3 separate regions of the Homo sapiens genome follow, and regions 1 and 2 are each linked to region 3. Evidence: promoter capture Hi-C in human tissues and cell types (Jung and others, 2019). All regions are on one chromosome and are shown on one strand. The core of a region is centred on a gene start or on the middle of the fragment in contact, and the rest is flanking DNA. Distances in the headings are between cores, read along the strand shown. Region 1 overlaps LRRIQ1 (leucine rich repeats and IQ motif containing 1). Region 2 overlaps LINC02820 (long intergenic non-protein coding RNA 2820). Region 3 holds the start of ALX1 (ALX homeobox 1).

Region 1 (3,422 bases), core at 518-3,017, 72 kb before region 3:
ACAGGCAAGATTGCTCTGCTCTGTTCAGGTCTTACAGTTCCCCTAAGACTACCATCTCCTAGCGGAGCATGGAGACCCTTGGAAGATGGGTGTCACTGACCTTGCTCCCCTGCAGATGTTCCCACACCAAACCCTTGGAGCTCCAAACGGGCTAGAATCCTGCCACTACCACTTCCCTAGGCAGCTCTTCCTGACAGTTCATGTCCTGGAGGACCGTGGGGTGTCCTGCTGCCAGGATTCCAGAGGTCTTACGGCATGAGTGGGTCACTTGTCACCTGCTCTACTGACCTTATCACCAGGAGTGCTTGGGGAGCCTGGAATAAATCCCAGTACACAGTAGCCTTGTGCAGAGTTCCCAGCTTCCAACCACTTCAGCCCAGCATCTGTGTCCTCCCTCCGTCCACTCTCAATGCCTTCCTTCCAAAGATGTGTTTGAAGTGCACCAGTCTTCTACTATCCTGGTCTCTTGGTGGCAGATGTGCCTCCTACTTTCATATGGTTGGCCATCATGTGTCCTGAAAAAAAAATTATTATTGAGTTTTAAGAGTATTTTGTGTATTTTTGATAACAGTCCTTTATCAGCTGCATCTTTGGCAAATATTTTCTCCCAGTCTGTGTCTTGTCTGCCCATTCTTTTGATGTCTTTCACACAGAAGCATTTTTAATTTTAATGAAGTCTGAATTATCAATCATTTTTTTCATGGATTGTGCCCTTGATGTTGTATCTAAAAAGTTATCACCAAACCCAAGAACACCTAGATTTTGTCCTGTGTTATCTCCTAGTAGTTTTATAGTTTTGTGTTTTGCACTTGGGTCTATGATTCATTTTGAGGTACTATTTTGAAGGGTGTGAGATCTGGGTTTAGATTCTTTTTTTGGGAGTGGGGAGGCATGTATCCAGTTGTTCCGACATCATTTGATGAAAAAAGTATTTTTTTCTCTATTGTATTGCCTTTTCTCTTTTGGCAAAGATCAGTTGACTATATTTTTGTGGATCTATTTCTGACTTGTCTATTATGTTCCACTGGTCTATTTGTATATTCTTTCACCAATACCATACTGTCTTTTTGTTTTGTTTCAACACTCTTTATCTTAAATAATGCTTAAATTGAATATGAAATATAGGTTCCTTTTTAGAGTAGTAACTTTCCTCTCATGTTCCTTTTTTTTTCAAATTTATGTTTTTAGTTGACAAAGTTTTATATATATACATATATTAACGTGTACAGTGTGCTATTTTGAGGTATATATATACATTGTGAAATGACTAAATCTGGCTAATCGATGCACTGTTTAGATTACTGTAGCTTTATATAGTAGGTCTTGAAGTTAGGTAATATCCATTGTCAAAAAAAAAAGAAATGAAAGTTGATAAGGAGTTCCTCAAAACTCAGAAATGACAAGAAAACAAACATATAGGTATAGTAAGTTATTGCTGAGAATTATCTATCTAGAGTAAGGAGGAATGTGCCTCCAGGTACCTGCCAAAAAGCACTTAAAAAGCTTTCTGAGTTGAAACAGTTTAAATTCACACTTCTAGAAATTCACATTAATGCGGATATATAGAACATAAATTAACTAAAAAAATAAGAAAACACTAAACATCTCAGGAAATAAGCCACAAGAATGATAGTAAATAGAAATACAAACTACAAAATTAGCCCATTTGAATACTTAAGATAGTGGATTCATCAGATACAGAATATGAAATAAGTATCTTTAGTTTAATCAAATGCATAAAAATTGATTTGATAATGTAATTAAGCAACGAGACCAGTAAAATTAGAAAACTAAAAAAATAGTGATTCTAAAAATGAAAACTATTATTGATATTACAAACTCAATGGATGGATTAAAGAAAATTAGAACTACGGACCAACAAAAGTGAACCCATTCTATTGTTACTATGCATTATCTATGCAGTTATATATTAAGTTCCAAAGGCAACACACTTTATTTGGGATTGTTATCTAATGTTATAAACTTGACATTTTCTTAGGACTCACATGACCTAAAATACTGGCAATTTTCTATAGAGACTTAAGAAATTTTTTCTGTCTTCTGGTGCTGTTACTCAAAAAGATATATTAGCAAGCATTCTTGACCCTTTTGAACACATAGAGCACTCAGCTATGAACTTAGACAACTTTAAACTCACCAGTTACCTTAATATTGGCAACATAGTGAAAAAGGGACCAGTCTAAGATTTAGAAAAAGGTTCCTAATTTGCCACTAAATAGCTCTTGCATCCTGGATGTCACTTAACTTTTCTCAATCTCATTTGAAAATATATCTATATTAGTTTGTTCTCATGCTGCTATGAAGAAATACCTAAGATTGGGTAATTTATAAAGGAAAGAGGTTTAATTCACTGACAGTTCTACAGGGCTGGGGAGGCCTCAGGAAACTTGCAATCATGGCAGAAGGAGAAGCAAACACATCCCTCTTCACATGGTGGCAGTGAGGAGAAGTGGTGAACAAAAGGGGGAAAAGCCCCTTATAAAACCATCAGATCTGGTGAGAACTCACTATCACAAGAACAGCATGGAGGTAACCACCCCCATGATTCAATTACCTCCCATCAGATTTCTACTACCATATGTGGGGATTATGGGAACTACAATTCAAGATATTTGTGTGGGGACACACCCAAACCATATCAATCTGTGTATCTTCTCTTTATTTTAAAAAAATGCATTTTTATTTGTAAGTTCATCTGAGTATAGCTACAGTAAATATCTAAAGTTGATTTTTCTACCCTCAGGCTAGTAGTTAAACACTGATTAGGAGCTCTAGTAAATATCTGTACCTAAGAAATTGATGCCTAAGATTTATTCTTAATATTTTGAGGTAGCTGCCACAGGAGAAAAGAGCATGAGATGCTATTTCTTGAGCAAAAAAAATATTATCTAGGGATTTTATATATCTGATTGTTTCTTCACAACATCCATGAAAAAAAATACAATTACCCTCATTTTTTTGGAGACTGAAACTAAAATTTTGAGCTTATGTAAGACTCATGAGAATTTGAACTTAGGTCTGACTCCAAAGCCCATGGTATTTCCACTTCATCAAGAAGCCATATTTTTCCATGAGACTCCTCTTAATGTCATATTTCTTAATATGGAAATGAATGACATTTTAAAATGTTCTTAATATACTAGCTATAATAAATAATGCAGAATTTCTTTTTTTCTTGTGGAAGACTTTTAGAAAATAAGGAATAATTTTGAAATAGTTTTTCATATTTGTTCCCAGAGGACCTTATACATTTCTACTAAATTTATTCAAATATTAAATTATGAAAATGACAAAGCACAATAAACATTCCAGTCCTAGGATATTATGTATGAATTGGTCAAAAACCACAGTATTCTATAACTCCATAGTTTTCCTATGTAAGTACATTCTGAAGAATAGCT
Region 2 (3,415 bases), core at 738-3,237, 89 kb after region 3:
TAAAATTATGCTTTCTGGTTGGTTTATAAATAAATAGTCAAGAAAATTTATCAGAAAGGAAAAGAATTATTGTGTTAGTCAATACAATGAAAATATAGAATAACTCAAATGAATAATAACTTTAAATAAGGCCCCTTGTACTTGAATACTTCAAAGATGAAAGCATTAGTGAAAAAGCCCCCCCCGCCCCCCACCACCCCGCTGATGTCAGAAAGAAGTCATTGCAATGTGTAAACTGCTATGAATTACTTTAATAGTGTAATGCAGGGTTTGGAAAACTTGTAGAGAGTCAAATAGTAAATACTTTAAGGCTGTGGAGACCATAAGGTCTCTATCTTAACTACTCAGCTCTGCCTTTGTAATGTGAAAACAGCCATGGGCAGTGGTTAAGTGAATGGGTGTGTCTGTTTGCAAATAAAGCTTTATTTATATAAACAGGCAGCAGGTTGGATTTGGCCCCACGGGTCATAGTTTGCTGACCCCTGTTCTAATAGTCTAAATTATAGTTATGGCTTCCTTCTCATCCATGAGTGACACACTTTTATAGAAGGGACTTCCCTTTTTAGGAAATATGAGAGTCGCATTCCAGGGATAAAGTAACTCTAGAGTGATCCAGCCAAAGGCATTTTGTTTGAAACAATGTTATGATCATAATTCAACTGACCTTTTTAGGACAGTTGGGATAGGTCACATAAATAAAGACTGCTTTGTTGTGATACTACCAGTTTCAGCTTCACAAAACTCCTGATTTTTATAAGGTTTATCATCTGCTGCTCTGCATTTTGTATTTGTTAATTTCCAAAAAAAACTTGTACCTAGTAAACTATTCATCTCTCATATGAAGTGATTTATCAGTTGAGACTAGAAATGAATAACACCCTTTTATGACATATAAATAATAATCATAGTACAGGTTGAATATCCCTTATCTGAAATACTTGGGACCAGAAGTGTTTCAGATTTCAGATTTTTTTTTTCTTGGACTTTTGAATATTTGCAAAGAGATATCCTAGGGAATAGACCCAAGTATAAACATGAAATTTATTTATGATCCATATATACCTTATACAAATAGCCTGAAGGTAATTTAATACAATATTTTAAATATTTTAGTGCATGAAACAAAGTTTTTGTTAAGTACTTACATGTGGAATTTTCCACTTAGGGCATCATGACAGTGCTCAAAAGGGATTTCAGGCCAGGCGCTGTGGCTCACGCCTGTAATGCCAGCACTTTGGGAGGCCGAGGCGGGTGGATCACAAGGTCAGAAGTTTGATACCAGCCTGACCAATATGGTGAAACCCCGTCTCTGCTAAAAATATGAAAATTAGCTGGACATGGTGGTGGGCAACTGTAGTCTCAGCTACTTGGGAGGCTGAGGCTGGGAATCGCTTGAACCTGGGAGGCGGAGGTTACAGTGAGCTGAGATTGCGCCACTGCACTCCAGCCTAGGTGATACAGCAAGACTCCATCTCAAAAAAAAAAAAAAAAAAAGGATTTCAGATTTTCAAATTAGAGGTGATCAAGCTGTAATAATAACTACAATAAGAGATGCTAGATATTGAATATTTACTGTGCGAAATCCTGCTTTCTCTTCAAGACCCATTTTGTCTAGGAAGCCTTCTCTGACTCCATGGACTAAGTGTTGCATCCTTTTATTCCCCACCCCTTATAGCTCTCTGGTTTTCTTTGTATCACAGCACTTGTCACACTCCAAGAGTCTTACTATCATTTCCCTCCTCAACTGGTAATAAGTGCCTGGGGGGGTCAGGAATGATGATTTATTTATCCTTGCATCCCTAGGGAATAGCACAGTGCCTGGCTCCTAACAGGCTATCATGCTATAAATGCTTACAAAAGAAATGAATGAACGATACCTGGAGCCATAGTGGAGCTGGCTAGCCTCCTGAGGCCTATAGGAACTGAAAGGAAAAGCTGAGTCCTGGCATAATATCAAGGTTTGGATGAAAGGCCCATCACTCTGAATCATTCTAGCACAAATTATAGGCTTTAAAAATGGTTTGTGAATGTTAACGGTTTTGAGTTTACTGCACTGTAAGATATCTTAAATTTCGCTCCCTTCCCTGGGCCCCTACTCTTTCTGATTGTATGTTGGTTTGTTCACTCAAGTGAGGAAGAAAGGCAGTTTGAAAATAAACCACAAATACAGATTGTTTTCCTTGTCTGATTCCCCCTTTGTTTTTGTTTATCACAGAACCAGAACTAAGATGCCTTTAGAGATGTGTGCAGATAAGCTACCAGAAATGAAATTTCAGTTCAAGTTTGGCACTAAGTAAGCCACTCTCCCAAAAGTTTTTTACAATGTGCTGACTGTAATACTTTGACCATAAACCACTGGTAATAACAAGAAGTTAGGCCCTGGTTACAAACATATTACTGCATTGCCAAGCCCTTCAGTGGAATTCAACTACTACATATTTTTAGGTTAAAGAGAACTATATCTTCTGTGTTTCAGCCAAATTTGACTTTGGTTTCAAATTACCTCTGAGGAGAATTTTTAGCTGATAATTTATCGTATATGATTTGTCTCACATAGAGATATATTTATAGCACATTTGGTAAATAAATATCTTTTCTATTAAAAAGGCCAAAGCACATCCAGTGATAACTTCTTAACTTAAGCACATCCAGTGATACTTCTTAACTAAAGGTTGCCTGTGGAAAATATTGGTTCTTCTGGGGACTAAAAAGGGAAGTAGATAGAAATTCTGATATCTTAGGTCATTGGAAATAGGGAAGTGGGAGTGAGTAAATGTAGGGATTTCAGAAAAAAGAAAAAAAAAGACTATATATGTATATCTCTCTCTCTCTCTCTCACAGTACCTGGCTCCTAACAGGCTCTCATGCTATATATATATATATATATTTACATATATATATATATTTACATATATATACACACACACACACACATACACACACGTTTTACATATATACATATATATTATGTATATGCATATATATTATGTATATGTGTATATATATTACATATATACATGTATATATATTTGACATATATACATGTATATATTTGACATATATATATATACATGTATATATATTTGACATATATATATATGTAAAAAAAAAAAAAAAGGGACTCTGAGGTCTCCAGAGAAATATCTGGAAAAGTCTGAGGCTTCATTCTAGGGAGTATTCCTGCTAGGTCGGCACGAAAGCCTCTAATTCTGACTGGGCTTACTTGGTTATATTTACAGATATCACACATATGTGTCTTCAACACTTGTCATTTTTCATTTCCCCTTGGTTGATCTTTCCTCATTCCTTTTCTCTTGAAAGATAAAGTAGTGAAAACATTTGGATGAAAAGGGAAATCCCAGAATTTTTCTTCTAAACTCAATTGGATAAGATAACGTAAAGTAAATCTACATTT
Region 3 (3,462 bases), core at 479-2,978:
GATCTGCTCGGGATCCGCCGGTCGGATCTGGGTGCTTAAGGCCGACCCTGCCTTTCGCGCAACGCTAAGGAGCAGCTCCGGGGTGCACAGCCCTCCCTGATTGTTACTCTCTGGCTGAGGCCTGGTCAGGTCTCGAAGAAGGTCTCACCAAAGAGGCGTGGGTCAGCTAAGACCCCCGCAGAAGGTGGAAACTCTCAAACCCATCAGCATGCCCACCACAGCTGGGCTTGGCCTCACCATCCTCAGAGTCCGGGCTGCTCGGCCTGCCCGAGGCCTCACCATAATTGCCAGACTTGTCTGGGGAAACGCGACGGCCGCTGTGAGTGCCAGTGTTGACAAAGGCTGTGTCAGGACGTCTAAGCAGAGGCCTACCTGGACCAAAACCTGTCTGGCTTATTTTCACCAAATTTGCTAGCTTAGGGTGCCTGACGCAAATGCGATTTTGTGCCCAGGGCACCGAACGCATTTCCCCCAAGCGCCGCGGGCTCCTAGGAAGCCAAGAGTCGTGCCAAAAGTCACACAGAAGGGCTTTCAACCTAGCAGTGCTGTCCTGCCTGCCCTACCATCCCCTCTGGTGGAAATGGAGGCCTTGGACCTGTCCGCGCCCAGGACGCCGCGCCGCGAGTGCCCGCAGCTCCGCGCGCTCACCACTCACTCCCAGAGCGCTTTTCGGAGTAACTCCACAGCAACTCTTTAAAATTAAAAGTAATTTCTGTAAAAATATGCAGACATTCCTCTTCTTCATAAACCCCTATTTGTAACAATCCTCACTTTGGCATTAGAGTAAAAGCCTTTCAAAGGCACTGATCCTAACGGGTTTTCTTAAAATAATTTGGGTCTAATGATAAAATCGTGGACCAAAGGGAAGGGTGGCGAAGAGGGTGTAGGGAATTGGTTGGCATTAGTATAATGGCTTCATTGCCTCTTGCTCGGCTTCTCTCTCCCACCCATCGCCACCGCGTCCACACTCCGCCGCATTCCAGAGAAAAAGAAAAGGCCACGGCCTCGTAAAGCTCCCAGCTGGCCCGGACCCCGAGCTCCTCCCGGTTAGAAGCCGAAGCGGCCCCTCTACTACGGCGGCTGCGATTAACAGTTGCCAATGCATCTGGTTCCTTGGGCTTCGGATTAATGTGAATCTTCCACGTAAACGATTTACGGATGAAATAAAAGCCTTTTAGAGCAATATTTCCTTTCAAGTTCTTAAGACGCCTCTAAATCTTTCTGGTAGTGAGTGGCCGGCATGGGGGCGGGGTGGGGACGGGTGGCTCAGGAAGGCGCAGGCAGTAGGGAGTGGAGGTTTAACTGCTTTGCGATCTCACCAAGATCTTCCGAAATGCCAGTCCACTGTCACGGCGGCAATGAATCTGGGTGTCAGGGGCTCGTCTCTCCTGGCATTTGTCTGAAATGGAGCTGTCTGTCTGTCTATCCTAGGCCTGGACGCCCTCTGCCCGGGTAAGTGGGGAAAATGGGGGTGGGGTAGGGGCGGAGGGGGACCTGGGGTGGAGTTAGTCGCCCGCCTATTTTCATATTCATTAGAACTGGGAGGCTGCCCGAGGAGGCCAGCTGAGTTTCAAGATATAAAAGCAACTTCGGGTGCTCCTTTTCCAGCCGGGACGTATTAAAGGGACCGGAGCGGGGCAGTTCCCGACGCCGCAGCGCTCGCTTTCCCTTCCCTCCTCTCTGGCCCTCCCTCCTCCCACCCACTGGCTCCCTCCCCCAGCGCTCTCCAGTTTCTGTGCCCCAGGAGCTACGCGACAGTCTTCCAGGATTATGGAGTTTCTGAGCGAGAAGTTTGCCCTCAAGAGCCCTCCGAGTAAAAACAGTGACTTTTACATGGGCGCAGGAGGTCCTCTGGAGCACGTTATGGAGACGCTGGACAATGAGTCCTTTTACAGCAAAGCGTCTGCAGGCAAATGCGTGCAGGCCTTCGGACCCCTGCCCCGCGCCGAGCATCACGTGCGCTTGGAGAGGACCTCGCCCTGTCAGGACAGCAGCGGTGAGTCGCTAGCGCCCCAGCCGGAGCCGCCGCAGCCCTTCCGCAATCGAAAATGCAGGATCGGTCTGATCAGGCAGGGAGGGAGAAAGGAGAAAAGTGGGAGCGAGGGACCTGGAAGGTGGAGGAAGGTAGTGGAAGGTGCTCGCTTTATGAAGCGGTGTTACTGCTGCTGCAGCCTTTGGGGGCGGAGGGCGGAGGGAGGGAGAGATCCAGCACCGGGTTGCCTCTGAGCGATTCTCCTTTCGCTGTAGGGTCTGGTCGCCTACGGATCCCTGAGTCCTTCTGTAATATTGGTTCCTGGAGTAAACTGATAGGGCGCTAAATAGAGCGTAATTGAGTCAAGACAGAACGCTTCCTCTGCGAGCCCGCCTTGCAGTCCGGGCGGTAGGAACTGAAATCGATCACAGCTCGTTAGAGTACGTCACTGTCGTCACGAGTAGGGAAAAAAAAACCGGAAAACAAAAACAAAAAACAAAAAACCCTTTGAGCTCCTTTAGGTAAAGATAAATCTTTTTAATTTTCCAAGACGTGGCGATATATTTTCAAAGTTTGAGGATCCCTAGATTTCTAGCGTGTGTGAATTTGTAATTTCTGCTTTTTTTTGCGTTTGCAATACAACACGCGTTGAATGTTTGTTAAACACTAAAGCACACTAAATAGCTTCGGGCAAACCATCCCCGGCCTAATCACTCATTCCCAGATTCTACGTTTTGTATTTTTATGACTTCACATTAAAAGTCACCTAAGGAGTCTTTGGAATGCTTCTGGGTGAAATCTTCAACTTTGAATGCCCAAGTATCTCCAAGTCAAAATGTTATCAAAACAAACCATCTATCTTTTCTATCTTGTAACCTAATACTAACCTATTATTTCAGATCGCGACAGCTAAAGCACGTTTACAATTCCAAGAGAACTTCTCCTTATCATTGTATATATTCCACAGTTAAGCTATAAGGGGCGGGTTGCTTTAAAATAACAAACGAATTAAGTGTGAAATATTTACAACAAGCCCCCTGCCCCCTATTTTATAGAAATTCAAAATCTGACAAAACACTGGCCTGTAGAAGCTCATTTTCTAAATATTTTGAACACAAGTTTTTTTCTTTTATTAATCTCATATTTAACTAATTTTATTTAACGTTGCAAGTAACTTTTGACTAAGGGTAAATCAAAAATAAAGGTGCAAATGATAGAGAAAATAATCAGCTAAGTCGTTTCAGTCATTTATTTAGAAAGATTCGAGCGTATACTTTTTGTTATTCTTACACTGAGTTGTTGGTTTTCTGGCTGCGTTTCAGACCTGGTATCTGTATTTGTGGAATTCTTAGGTGCATGCCTAACGTTATTTGAATTGACAGGTCTTTCTTTAATGATTCTGCAATGTCTTGTATTGACTCTGGATGGACTTGATCATAATATTTTATTTTGAATAGTCGAGAATCCAAAATAAGAGACATAATTGATGC

What was found. The method cuts DNA at HindIII sites, captures the fragments that hold promoters and counts their contacts. A contact is called where the count stands out against the background at its distance.
Region 1: a contact is called between a fragment that was not itself captured here and the fragment with the promoter of ALX1 in region 3, in 2 of the 25 tissues and cell types used here (mesendoderm cells and pancreas).
Region 2: a fragment that was not itself captured here is called in contact with the fragment with the promoter of ALX1 in region 3 in 3 of the 25 tissues and cell types used here (H1 embryonic stem cells, mesendoderm cells and thymus).

The regions. Positions count from the first base shown.
Region 1 is chr12:85,206,856-85,210,277 of GRCh38, forward strand. All of the region lies in intron 24 of LRRIQ1 (leucine rich repeats and IQ motif containing 1), which reads left to right. Among named protein-coding and RNA genes, the nearest start is that of ALX1, 72 kb to the right of the region's middle. The HindIII fragment of the contact is 5,090 bases long and covers 1-3,422 here.
Region 2 is chr12:85,367,552-85,370,966 of GRCh38, forward strand. All of the region lies in intron 2 of LINC02820 (long intergenic non-protein coding RNA 2820), which reads left to right. Among named protein-coding and RNA genes, the nearest start is that of LINC02820, 51 kb to the left of the region's middle. The HindIII fragment of the contact is 4,866 bases long and covers 1-3,415 here.
Region 3 is chr12:85,278,492-85,281,953 of GRCh38, forward strand. It overlaps ALX1 (ALX homeobox 1), which reads left to right and starts at 1,729. Exons shown (of 4, transcript NM_006982.3): 1 at 1,729-1,996. The coding sequence starts at 1,771. RefSeq lists a silencer at 1,820-2,114. The HindIII fragment of the contact is 12,363 bases long and covers 1-3,462 here.